3 separate regions of the Homo sapiens genome follow, and all the other regions are linked to region 1. Evidence: promoter capture Hi-C in 16 types of primary human blood cells and fetal thymus (Javierre and others, 2016). All regions are on one chromosome and are shown on one strand. The core of a region is centred on a gene start or on the middle of the fragment in contact, and the rest is flanking DNA. Distances in the headings are between cores, read along the strand shown.

Region 1 (3,982 bases), core at 461-2,960:
GGTTCAAGCGATCCTCCTGTCTCAGCTTCCTGATTAGCTGGGATTACAGGCGCCCTCCACCACACCCAGTTAATTTTTCTATTTTTAGTGGAGACGGTGTTTCACCATGTTGGCCAGGCTGGTCTCAAACTCCTGACCTCAAGTGATCCGCCCACCTCAGCTTCCCAAAGTGCTGGGATTACAAGCGTGAGCCACCACGCCCAGCCAGGAAACCCATTTTCAACACCTCCTTGCTCTTTTTTTTTTCTGAGACAGAGTCTCGCTCTGTCGCCCAGACTGGAGTGCAGTGGCGCAATCTCGGCTCACTGCAACCTCCGCCTGCCAGGTCAAACAATTCTCCTGCCTCAGCCTCCCAAGTAGGTGGGACTACAGGCATGTGCCACCACACCCGGCTAATTTTCTTTTGTATTTTTAGTAGAGACGGGGTTTCACCATGCTGGCCAGGCTGGTCTCGAACTCCTGACCTCGTGATCCGCCCGCCTCGGCCTCCCAAAGTGCTGGGATTACAAACGTGAGCCACCGCGCCTGGCCTTCCTTGCTCTTCTTGCTCCAAATCCTGGGAACGTCTGAATCAACAGGCGGACATCTGTCAAACCTTCCTAGCAACTACGCCTGCGGATGGCCAACCTGACCCTGGAAGACAGTGGGGTTTAGTTAAGCACAGATTGTACATCGGGGGCCTCATAAGGCGCCTGGAAGCATTCAAGAACACCACGCTTGTAAGGACAAAGCACTCGGTCACGGGCGCCTTTACTTCGGAGCTCCGCGCTGCTGCTGGACGAGCGTCCGTTGAGTCCCAGCCCCAATTTTTCCAGGAAATGGCGGTGAGCCCTCTAGTGAGATATTTTTTGGCCTGGGCCTCAGTTTCTCCATCTGTCAATGGGGGAAGGGGAAGGCGGGCTAGAGGACCCCGACCAGGTCGGCTGCAGCCTTCGGAAGCTACGGCCCAGGGACGCCACACCAAGGCAGGTCTGCGGGACGAAAGAACCCAAGAACCCGGGCGCGCATTGGCGCCGGTCCCGGGCTCAAGGGGCAGCAACGAGGAGACGCTGGACCTGGCCGTTCCTCGCACACATCTCTAACCTTCTGTGCCTCTCAAGGGAGATGGGGTGAGCATAGCCACCTCCACTGGAGCCCGAAAATCCCCGGCCGAGATACCGCCACTAAAAAGGTACACATGCGTCAAAGCCTCTCGGAGCCATTTCCGCTAACGTACTCAGGGCGACGGGCGTAAGATGGCGGCCGCGCAGGCGCAAAATGTCGCAGCCGTAGGGAGGCTCCGCCTCTGACGCTTGCCTTGCATCACGTGGTAATGGCCGCTCAAAAAACGCCTTAGCGAAAACCAGAGCGTGCCCTCGTCACGTGATGGAGGACTCCCAGTACGGCAAAGGGAAGGCGCCAAAAGTTGTCAGATGGCGAAGGAAACCGCGAAATTCGCCATTGTCACATGATGGAGCAACCTATCGAAAGCGGAGGGAAAGGTGCCGAAGTCACGTGACTACGCACGCAAACACTCCCGCTTGCACCACGTGCAACTCACGCCCACCCCCTCAGCCCCCCCCTTATCTCTTTTCGCCCCTCCCTCCCATTTGGGTTGGGCCTGCGTCGAGGCGCAACGCGGCGTCAAAGGGGGCGGGGCTTCAGCCGGTCACGTGTTCCCGCACCTCCCCGGCGCGCGCCTGCCCGCCCGCCCGCTCGCCCCCGGTCCGGACTCCTCCTCCTCCTCTTCTCGCCATTGCAGTTGGACCCAGCAGCCCGGCGCGCACCGCGTGGCTTTTGGGGGCAGACCCCGGCGGGCTGTGGCAGGAGGGCGGCGGCGGCGGCTGCGGTCGAAGAAGGGGACGCCGACAAGGTAAGCGTCAATGTGGCGGCGGCCGGGCCCGCTCCCGCCTCTGCCCCTCCCCCCGCCCGCCCTCAGTGAGATCCCCACTGAGGGTTCGCGGTGACAAGGCTGGAGGGATCCCACGCTCGCCGCCTCCGCCCGGTTCCCTCATCCCGGCGCCTGGCCCGTTCCTCCCTTGCCGGCCTCGCTCCCGCGCTCGGCCGTTAACTCTCTTCCATTGTGCGGAGGAAACAAAATGGCGGCTGCGGCGGCGGCGAGGACTCGGTGCGCGCGCAGCCGCTCCCCCCCGCACGCGGCCCCTCGGCCGGCGGCGGCGCCACGCGCGGGGGGGTGCGCGCGCACCGGGCCCCCGGCTGCCGCCTCCCCGCGGCTGGGCTTTTGTCTGTTGCGGGGGTCCTGGGGACGCGCGCACGTGCTTGGAGCACACACCCCCTCGGGTCCCGAGTTCCGCGGCGGGGCGACCCCCCTTCCTCACTCCTTCCCTACCCCCTCCTCCTCTTTGTCCCGGTCCCGCCCCCGATTCCAGGAGAGTCCCAGGTTCCCGAGGCGGGAAAAGTCGCCTCCTTTGTCCTCACAGGTCGCGGAGAGGCGGACCCCCTCCTTGGAAGCCCCTTCCCACGCGGATTGCTGAGGAAGCCTTTGTGGGTTCGTCGGGTTTCCAAATCTCTGGTCAGCCAGGCCTCTCTCAGATCAGGGTCAAAACTTGAGAGGGTTTCAGCTTTTTCTTTAGTTAGTTTGTTTTCATTGTTGAATGTTTTTCCAGATTGTTAGTATTTGCCTTCTCTAGACCGGCAATCTACTTGGGTGCAAGCCTGGGCCCCGAAACGTGGATGCTTAAAACCCATTTCTACCTTTATTTTCTCAAGTAGTTGAACGATTGAGATTCTCGAGGTTACTCATGAGGTTCTGCCCCAGTTAATTCACCGCCTGGATGAATTATTTGGGGTGTACGGCGGTCTGCATGCTCCTCCCCCAGTTCAGTGGCCAAATTTGAGGAGAATGAGGGATCTCTTCTCCACATTTCCAACATTGTTTGCCAGTTGCTGCTTAGGTGACATGGATCAGCAACGAAGCGTCGGTTTCAGTGGTTTCTTTTTCTGGACTCCGGTAATTCACTGCTGCTGAATCTTTTTCAAGATTTTGCTCTCTTTAAAATGAGTGGTGTGATGGCATATTTGTGGTCCACATGGAATCGCGAGGTGCCATCCGAAGTTAGGATTCAAATTTAGGACTTTAAGCTCTCTTTTCCTCAGGTATTTGTGGATGGGAATCTCCATGGATTGCTCAGAGTGCTGCCACTGTCCCTTGTGCGTGATGCTTTGTGTGTGGTCTCGTGGGATGTAGTTACAGTAGCCGCCCAGACTGTGAATGAAGTGTGGGAACCAGGGCCTCATTCACAGCTGGAAAGCAGGAGGAGGCCGCAGGACATTGGCAGGTGCTCCTCTCCCTGTTCCGTGGTGCTGGGGCCCCTTGCTTATGTGGGTGGCTCTTGGTCCCTGGGATTTGTGAATGGAGTCTGCAGGCCCCAGTGTTGTCTGGAATATTCTTTAGTTCAGATTGGAGGCTAGCAATGACTGCCAGGCTTGGCCTTGCCGCCACTGGGCGCTATTTATCACTCTCCCTATCTTCCTGGAGCTTAGCCGAGTCTTCCTGGAGCTGAGAGGTGCCTAATTGTTTGTGGTTTTTCTGATTGAACTTGTTTGGTGCCTCTAGGCAAAAATTCCTTTGGCTCCTTCTAGTATTTTCAGGGTCTTGAAGGCCCATATTCCTGAGCATGAGGAATCTAAGTCTGTTATTTTTTCCTAAATTTTCATGTTAAATACCACGTTGACAAAGGACAGCTGCTAATATTTTGATCACACAGATACAGACGGTGCTCCCTGGTTAAGGCCTCCAGGTAGGGGACAGGTAGAGTCAGTGATGGGGAAGAAGCCTTCTGTAAGTCCCTTTCCTTTGGGTAGACAGTAGATTACCCTTTAGGCTTTAGCAAGATGTGGGGGTTAGAAGTCTTCTATTCTTGGAAAAGCCTTTAGTCGTTTTCTTTGGGCTGGGGCCTCTTCTCTTAGGGACTGCTGTCACCCTTTCTCGGTTTCTTTTGATTACCTTTCATGGCCCCAGAGGAGTGATCCCTTCCCTTAT
Region 2 (3,982 bases), core at 1,039-3,538, 220 kb after region 1:
TAAAGTGAGATGGAGTCTCGCCGTGTTATAGGCTGGTCTCGAACTCCTAGGCTCAAGTGATCCTCCCACCTCAGCTGTTCTTTTCTTTTCTTTTTTTTTTTGAGACGGAGTCTGGCTCTGTCACCCAGGCTGAAGTGCAATTGCGCGATCTCCGCTTACTGCAAGCTCTGCCTCCTGGGTTCAGGCCATTCTCCTGCCTCAGCCTCCCGGGTAGCTGGGACTACAGGCGCCCGCCACCACGCCCGGCTAATTCTTTGTATTTTTAGTAGAGACGGGGTTTCACCGTGTTAGCCAGGATGGTCTCCATCTCCTGACCTCGTGATCTGCCCACCTTGGCCTCCCAAAGTGCTGGGATTACAGGCTTGAGCCACCGTGCCCGGCCCCAGCTGTTCTTTTCTTATAAGGACACTGGGCATTGGATTTAGGGCCCACTTTATATCTAGGATGATCTCATCTCAAGATCCTTATCTGCAAAGACCCTATTTCCTAATAAGGTCACCTTCACAGATTCCAGGGGTTACAACTTGGATGTCTGTCTTTTTTTTTTTTTTGAGATGGAATTTTGCCCAGGCTGGAGTGCAATGGCGTGATCTCGGCTCACTGCAACCTCTGCCTCCCGGGTTCGAGCGATTCGCCTGCTTTGGCCTCCCAAAGTCCTGGGATTACAGGGATTAGAGGCATGTGCCACCATGCCCGGTTAATTTTTTTTGTATTTTTAGTAGAGATGGGGTTTCTCCGTGTTGGTCAGGCTGGTCTCGAACTCCTGACCTCAGGTGATCCGCCCACCTTGGCCTCCTAAAGTGCTGGGATTACAGGTGTGAGCCACCGCCACCAGCCTCACATATGGCTAATTTTTAAGTTTCTTCTAGCGATGCGGTCTCACTATTTTGCCCAGGCTGGTCTTGAACTCCTGGGCTCAAGCAGTCCTCCTGCCTTGGCCTCCCAAAGTGCTAGGATTACAGACGTGAGCCACTGCGCCCGGCCAATAAATATTTATGTCCATGTTACTGACAGCAGTGTTCGTTGGTGTGGCATGGGAATGAGCTAGCTTTTCTAGGAGGAGCCCCCTATGCTCCAGGGCTGCCCCGCTGTCTTGGCTCACCGGCCATGGGAGGGAGTCCTGGGCCATGATCTGTACCTAACATAGGAGGCCCAGGAGAGGCACGTGGGGAGGACTTCCAGCCCTGTTCCTTGACGTCTGCACCCTCCAGGGGAAGGATGACAGCTGCAGAAGGGCCTGTCTCTGTCACTCTGTAGTGAACAGTTACTTCTTGCCATCTGAAGTCACCCTGGCCTACGTCCATGAGATTGGCCAAATGGCAACTACCAACACCAGGCCATTTTCCCTGTGCAGAGGGGGAGGCCCTTTGGCGTGGGCTTCCTGGGCTTGAGGAAGCTTTGGCATGGCCTCTGGAGTTCCTGGGCATAGGCTGCCCTCCCTTGGAAAGGAGGCAGTTTCTCAGGGAGGGGTGCCGGGAAAGAGAACAGAACAAACTCTCACTTCCCCAGCCCTGTGGCGCTCTTTCTGGAAATGACTGTGTCACTTTTCTTTCTTGGTCAGCACGAGTCAGTGTGGCCAGTGCTTTAGACTCTCCCATCCCCTTGGCTCAGAAGCTTACACAGCAGCATGGGCTCCGTCAGGGGCTAAACTTCAGTTTGTGAGGGGCATGCCATGGGGTGGAAAGTTCAGAGAAAAACCCTTTGTCCAAAGAAGGTGAAGAATGGCCTGCTGTCACCGAACCAGGGGCCCTTGTGACTTCCTTTGGTTACACTCCTGGGATCCCCCTGACAGCTGGGGCAGGGGTATAGAAGAGCTTGTTATGTGCCCCATCTTTAGGACATCTCGGTGTCAAGCTGGAGTGACAACAGGGAAAGTTAGTAACCCCAGAAAGGCATTTGTGTTTCAGCGGTGCCTGCGTGTGGCTAATGGATACCGTCATTTATTGAGCATTTATCCCGTACCAGACTGTGCATAAACTTGTGTTGACTCAAAATGCTTGACCTTGGGGGCAGCTAGGGAAAGGGCAGTGATATAAATTAGGCCTATGGGCCACATTGAGCCTGTGGCCTATTTTTATCTGTGTTTGTATTTTATTAGTGAGACAGAGTCTCACTGTGTTGCCCAGGCTGGAGTGCAATGGCATGGTCTTGGCTCACTGTAACCTCCACCTCCCAGGTTCAAGTGATTCTCATGCCTCACCCTCCTGAGTAGCTGGGATTACAGGCCTGTGCCACCACCCTGGCTAATTTTTGTATTTTTAGTAGAGACAGGGTTTCACCATCTTGGCCAGGCTGGCCTCGAACTCCTGACCTCAAATAATCTGCCTGCCTCAGCCTCCCAAAATGCTGGGATTACAGGTGCGAGCCACCGCACCCAGCCTGTGTTTTATTATTTATTTATTTTGAGATGGAATCTCGCTCTGTTGCCCAGGCTGGAATGCAGTGGCGCAATCTCGGCTCACTGCAACCTCTGCCTCCCAGGTTCAAGCGATTCTCCTGTCTCAGCCTCCCGAGTAGCTGGGATTACAGGCACATGCCGCCATGCCCAGCTAATTTTTTGTATTTTAGTAGCTCACTGCAGCCTCTAACTCCTGGGCTCAAGTGATCCTCTGGCCTCATCCTCCCAAGTAGCTGGGACTACAAGCACATGTCACCACCCTTGGCTAATTTAAGCAATTTTTTTAGAGACAGAGTCTTGCTGTGTTTCCCAGGCTGGCCCCAAACCCCTGGCCTCAAACCATCCTCCTCCTGCCTGAGCCTCAGAAGTAGCTGGGATTATAGTCACGAACCGCTGGGCCCGGTGTGGCCTATTTTTGTACAGACAAAGCTAAGAAAGGCTTTTACAGTTTTTGAGAGATTGATTAGGGAAAAAAACTAAAACCCAATCCACAAACAACAATAATCAGTTGAGACCACAGTGTCCTGCAAAACCTGAAATATTTACTCACTGGCCCGAGGCAGGGGAAGCTTGTAGACCCCTGGGATAAATGAATGAGGCAGGCAGGAGTTGGGGTCTGTGGGGAGTTTGGCCCCAGCCAAAAGAGAAACCAAAAAATCCTCAGGCCGAATAGAGCATACTTCTGAATTGTGTGAGCCCCTTGTGCCAATTGTGGCGCTTACTGTATGTTACCACTTACTCTGAAAAGAGTTCTGTGAGGTCAGAGATACCAACCCCAATTTACTGGTGGAAAAACAGAAATGAAAGAACTTGACTGGCCAAAGTGATGTGGTTGGCAGGCAGCAGAGATGGCTTTGGCATTCTGGGTGACTGGATGCCCACCTTAAATGCATATATAAGTGGTTCAGTGACATTTATCTGTTCATCACAAAGACCCAAAGTAGCAGAGGCTTAATTAAACACGATGGCATTTTATTTTTTGTGCTCTAATGCTAAAGTGTGAAGATTGTCAGGTGCCAAAGTCTCCTGGGCTCTTGGAAGTTCCCAGATCCAGGTCCTCCCCCCGGCTTTTTTTTTTTTTTTGAGATGGTGTCTCGCTCTGTTGCCCAGGGGCTGCAGTGCAGTGGTGTGATCTCAGCTCACTGCATCCTCTGCCTCCCGGGTTCAAGCGATTCTCCTGCCTCAGCCTCCCAAGTATCTGGGACTACAGGCGTGTGCCACCACGGCTGGCTAATTTTTGTATTTTTAGTAGAGACGGGGTATCGCCACGTTGGCCAGGCTGTTCTCAAACTCCTGACCTCAGGTGATCCACCCGCCTCGGCCTCCCAAAGTGCTGGGATTACAGGCCACTGCCCCAGGCTGATCCTCCACCATTCTTAAGGTGAGGTCTTGTCCTCAGGTTTCAGCATGACTGCTGGAGTCCCGCCATTACACCCTGGCTTCCAGACAGCAGGACAGAGGAAGGGACAAAGGAGAAAGGGTGCAAAGGTCACATCCAGGTGTTTGTTAAGAAAGGTTCCCGGTAGCTGATGCAAGGTGCTTCAGCTTTCATTTTGTTGGCTAGAATGTAGTCACATGATCACT
Region 3 (3,982 bases), core at 411-2,910, 200 kb after region 1:
ACCAGGCTAGTCTTGAACTCTTAACCTCAAGTGATCCTCCCACCTCGGCCTCCAGAGTAGCTGGGATTACAGATGTGAGTCACCATGCCCAGCATGAGCCACATAAGGTTTCTGAGCACTTACTATGGACCAAGAACTGTCTTTGGGCTTGCCCAAAGACATTCCAGGCTGACATTCCAGGCGGATGAGGACAGATGATAAACATGAAATCCAATATATATTCAACCTGCCAGCAGGGCACCAGATGAAATCCACCTGGGTGAGGATGTCATTATTTGAAGTAGAGTAGGGCGACTGGCCCCATGTTCTAATGGTCAGCCCTCTGGACTCTGAAGTAGAGTAGGGCAATCAGGGAAGCCCTCTCTGAGGAGGTGGCATTTGAGCAAAAAACTGAATGATGAGGAGGAGCCAATCATGTGGATATCCAGGGCATGTGTTGCAGGCAGAGGATACAGGATGTGCAAAGGCCCCGAGGCTGAAGCTTCCCTGGTGTGTCTGAGGAGCCCAGTATGGCTGAAGGATGGTGAACAAGGAGGAAAATGGGGAGAGGCGGGGCAGGGAGTTCACCAGGAGGATCGTGGGGGGTCTTGTAGACCACAGCAAGGATTCGATCTTTTCACCTGAGTGAGGGAACCCTGGCAGGGCTGATGTCCTTTTCTGATCTCTGAATGAGGAGGCTGGACATGGGTTATGGGTCAAGAAGCAGGAGGGAGGAGCCTTTGGTGGCCTTCTGTGTTACCATCAGTCAGAACTTTCCTGGCCGGGTGCAATGACCCACGCCTATAAGCCCAGGACTTTGGGAGGCTGAGGCAGGACGATTCCTTGAGCCAAGGAGTTCAAGATCAGCCTGGGCAACATAGTGAGACCCTGTCTCTACAAAAAAAAAAAAAAATTATTTTATTTTTTTTTTAGATAGGGGTCTTGCTTTGTTGACCAGGCTAGAGTGCAGTGGCGCAATCACAGCTCACTGCAGCCTCCACTTCCTGGGCTCAATCAATCTTCCCTTCTCAGTCTCCCTAGCAGCTGGGACTACAGCCGTGCACCACCACGCCTGGCTAATATGTCTATTTTTTGTAAAGACAGGGACTCACTCTGTCGCCCAGGCTGGAGTGCAGTGGTGTGACCCCAGCTCACTGCAATCTCTACCTCCGAGGTTCAAGCAATTCTCCTGCCTCAGCCTCTCGAGTCTCACTGCAACCTCTACCTCCGAGGTTCAAGCAATTCTCCTGCCTCAGCCTCCCGAGTAGCTGGGATTACAGGCGTGCACCACCATGCCCAGCTACTTTTTGAGTTTTAGTAGAGATGGGGTTTCACAATGCTGGCCAGGCTGCTCTCAAACTCCTGACCTCAGGTGTTCTGCCTGCCTCGGCCTCACAAAGTGCTGGAATTACAGGCGTGAGCCACCATGCCCAGCTCCCCCCAATTTTTTTTTTTTTTTTGAGACAGTCTCGGTCTGTCGCCCAGGCTGGAGTACAGTGGCACGATCTCGGCTCACTGCAACCTCTGCCTCCCGGGTTCAAGCGATTCTCCTGCCTCAGAGCCTCCCGAGTAGCTGGGACTACAGGCATGTGCCACCATGCCCAGCTAATTTTTTGTATTTTTTTTTTTAGTAAGAAGGGGTTTCACAGTGTTAGCCAGGATGATCTCAATCTCCTGATCTTGTGATCCGCCCACCTCAGCCTCCCAAAGTGCTGAGATTACAGGCGTGAGCTACCCCGTCCGGCTAATGTTTTTTTTTTTTTTTTTTTAATTAGGAGGGACTGCTGGCATGTGTCAGTAGGCTGAGGCAGGTGGATCACTTAAGCCGGGGAGGTAGAGGATATAGTGAGCCATGATCGCACCACTGCATTCCAGCCTGGGTGACAGAGGGAGACCCTGTCTGTAAAAACTTTTTTTTTTTTTTAATTTTTGAGACAGAGTCTCACTCTGTCGCCCAGGCTGAAGTGCAGTGGCCCAATCTCGGCTCACTGCAACCTTTGCCTCCCAGGCTCAAGCGATTCTCGTGCCTCAGCCTCCCGAGTAGCTGGGACTACAGGCGCCAACCACCACACCCTGCTAATTTTTGTATTTTTTAGTAGAGATGGGGTTTCACCATGTTGGCCAGGGTGGTCTTCAACTCCTGACCTCAAGTGATCCGCCCACATCGGCCTCCCAAAGTGCTGGGATTACAGCCATGAGCCACCGCGCCTGGCCCAAAAAAACTTTTAAAAAGAACTTTTTCACTGCAAAAAATAATCTTGTTGCCAGCCGAGGCCAACATGCAGCTATGACAGGGCAGTTCTCTGTCCTTCCCGGCCTCAGGCTCCTCTATCAAAGGCCCCCTTCTCTCACCTTGGCCTTGTGGCCTTGGAGTAGGGAGCTGACAACACCCCTTCTGCCCCAGGTGAATCAATGAACAAGGCTGACATTGTGAGAATACCAAGCGTCTGTCTTCTTCCCTCTTCTGGCTTAGCTCCTCACCTCCCTTGGGGTCAGGGCATCTCCTCTTTCTCCAGGAAGGGGAAGCGAAGTCTTGTGCTGAGAAGGTGACTCTGGAACTGCCACTCCCATGCCTGTGTGACTAGCTTCTGGGTGGATCTCAGGGTCTACCGTTGGGCTGGGGGTGGATGTCATCTGGCCACTGGCACCCAGACTGCAAGTAATAAAAACCTGACTCACACTGGCTCTACCAGCAAGAGGGGATTTGTTGGTTCACTGAGCTGAAGTCAGTTTACATGGCTGACTTCAGATATGGCTGGATCCAGGTGCTGAAAAATGACAGAAAGCATTTGCCTTCTCAGCTCCTCTTCTGTCTTATTCTCAGGTAGTTTCTCCCCCTCATGGAGGCAAGATTGTGCCCTGAAGCTTCAGATATATATTCTTTTTTTTTTTTTTTTTTTTTTTTTGAGACAGATTCTAGCTGTGTCACCCAGACTGGAAGGCAATGGCCCAATCTCGGCTCACTGCAACCTCCACCTTTTGGGTTCAATCGATTCTCCTGCCTCAGCGTCCCAAGTAGCTGGGATTACAGGCACGTAACACCTGGCTAATTTTTGTATTTTTAGTAGAGACGAGGTTTCACTATGTTGGCCAGGTTGATCTCGAACTCCTGACCTCAGGTGATCCACCCACCTCAGTCTCCCAAAGGGCTGGGATTACAGGCGTGAGCCACCGTGCCCAGCCATCTCTTTTTTTGTTTGTTTCTTCAGATGGGGTCTCTCTGTGTCACCCAGGCTGGAGTGCAGTAGCACGATCTCAGCTCAGTGCACCCTCCACTTCCCGGGTTCAAACTATTCTTGTGCCTCAGCCTCTGAAGTAGCTGGAATTACAGGTGTGCACCACACCTGGCTAATTATTTGTGGGGTTTTGTTGTTTTTTGTTTTGTTTGTTTCTTTTTGAGACAGAGTCTTGCTCTGTCACCCAGGCTGGAGTTCAGTGGCGCCATCTCAGCTCACTGCAACCTCCGCCTCCCGGGTTCAAGTGATTCTCCTGCCTCAGCCTCCTGAGTAAGTGGGACTACAGGCACGTGCCAGCACGCCTGGCTAATTTTTTGTATTTTTAGTAGAGACGGGGTTTCACAGTGTTAGCCAGGATGGTCTCGATCTACTGACCTAGTGATCCACCTGCCTTGGCCTCCCAAAGTGTGGGGATTACAGGCGTGAGCCACTGCGCCTGGCCAATTATTTATATTTTTAATATAGACAGAATTTCCCTGTGTTGGCTAGGCTGGTCTTGAGCCCCTGGCCTCAAGTAATCCACCTGCCTCAGCCTCCCAAAGTGTTGGGATTACAGGCATGAATCACCGCACCTGGCCTAAGATATCTATCCTATGCAATGCTAGCCAGAGGAGTAAACCTCTTTTCCCAGTGGTACCACCAAAGTCCCAGAGTTAGCTCTCATTGGCTCCACTTGGGTTACATGCTCATCCTGAACCAATCACAATAGCCAGGAGCGGGGGATAGGCTAATTGGCCAGACACAAAGTTTGCTAAGTCTCTTGGGTC

Evidence for each region. The method cuts DNA at HindIII sites, captures the fragments that hold promoters and counts their contacts. A CHiCAGO score of 5 or more calls a contact.
Region 2: a fragment that was not itself captured here is called in contact with the fragment with the promoter of ILF3 in region 1 in 1 of 17 cell types (neutrophils); the score reaches 5.1 in neutrophils.
Region 3: a contact is called between a fragment that was not itself captured here and the fragment with the promoter of ILF3 in region 1, in 5 of 17 cell types (neutrophils, naive CD8 T cells, activated CD4 T cells and 2 more). The highest score is 8.3, in neutrophils.

What each region holds. Positions count from the first base shown.
Region 1 is chr19:10,652,636-10,656,617 of GRCh38, forward strand. ILF3 (interleukin enhancer binding factor 3) reads left to right here and starts at 1,711. Exons shown (of 20, transcript NM_017620.3): 1 at 1,711-1,852. ILF3-DT (ILF3 divergent transcript) reads right to left here and starts at 1,237. Exons shown (of 1, transcript NR_024333.1): 1 at 1-1,237. RefSeq lists enhancers at 1-221, 222-723, 589-758, 999-1,468 and silencers at 1,559-1,798, 1,879-2,038. The HindIII fragment of the contact is 11,918 bases long and covers 1-3,982 here.
Region 2 is chr19:10,875,342-10,879,323 of GRCh38, forward strand. All of the region lies in intron 1 of CARM1 (coactivator associated arginine methyltransferase 1), which reads left to right. Among named protein-coding and RNA genes, the nearest start is that of CARM1, 5.8 kb to the left of the region's middle. RefSeq lists enhancers at 1,280-1,429, 1,610-1,839, 3,647-3,982. The HindIII fragment of the contact is 1,353 bases long and covers 1,613-2,965 here.
Region 3 is chr19:10,852,171-10,856,152 of GRCh38, forward strand. All of the region lies in intron 2 of C19orf38 (chromosome 19 open reading frame 38), which reads left to right. Among named protein-coding and RNA genes, the nearest start is that of C19orf38, 5.7 kb to the left of the region's middle. The HindIII fragment of the contact is 2,363 bases long and covers 480-2,842 here.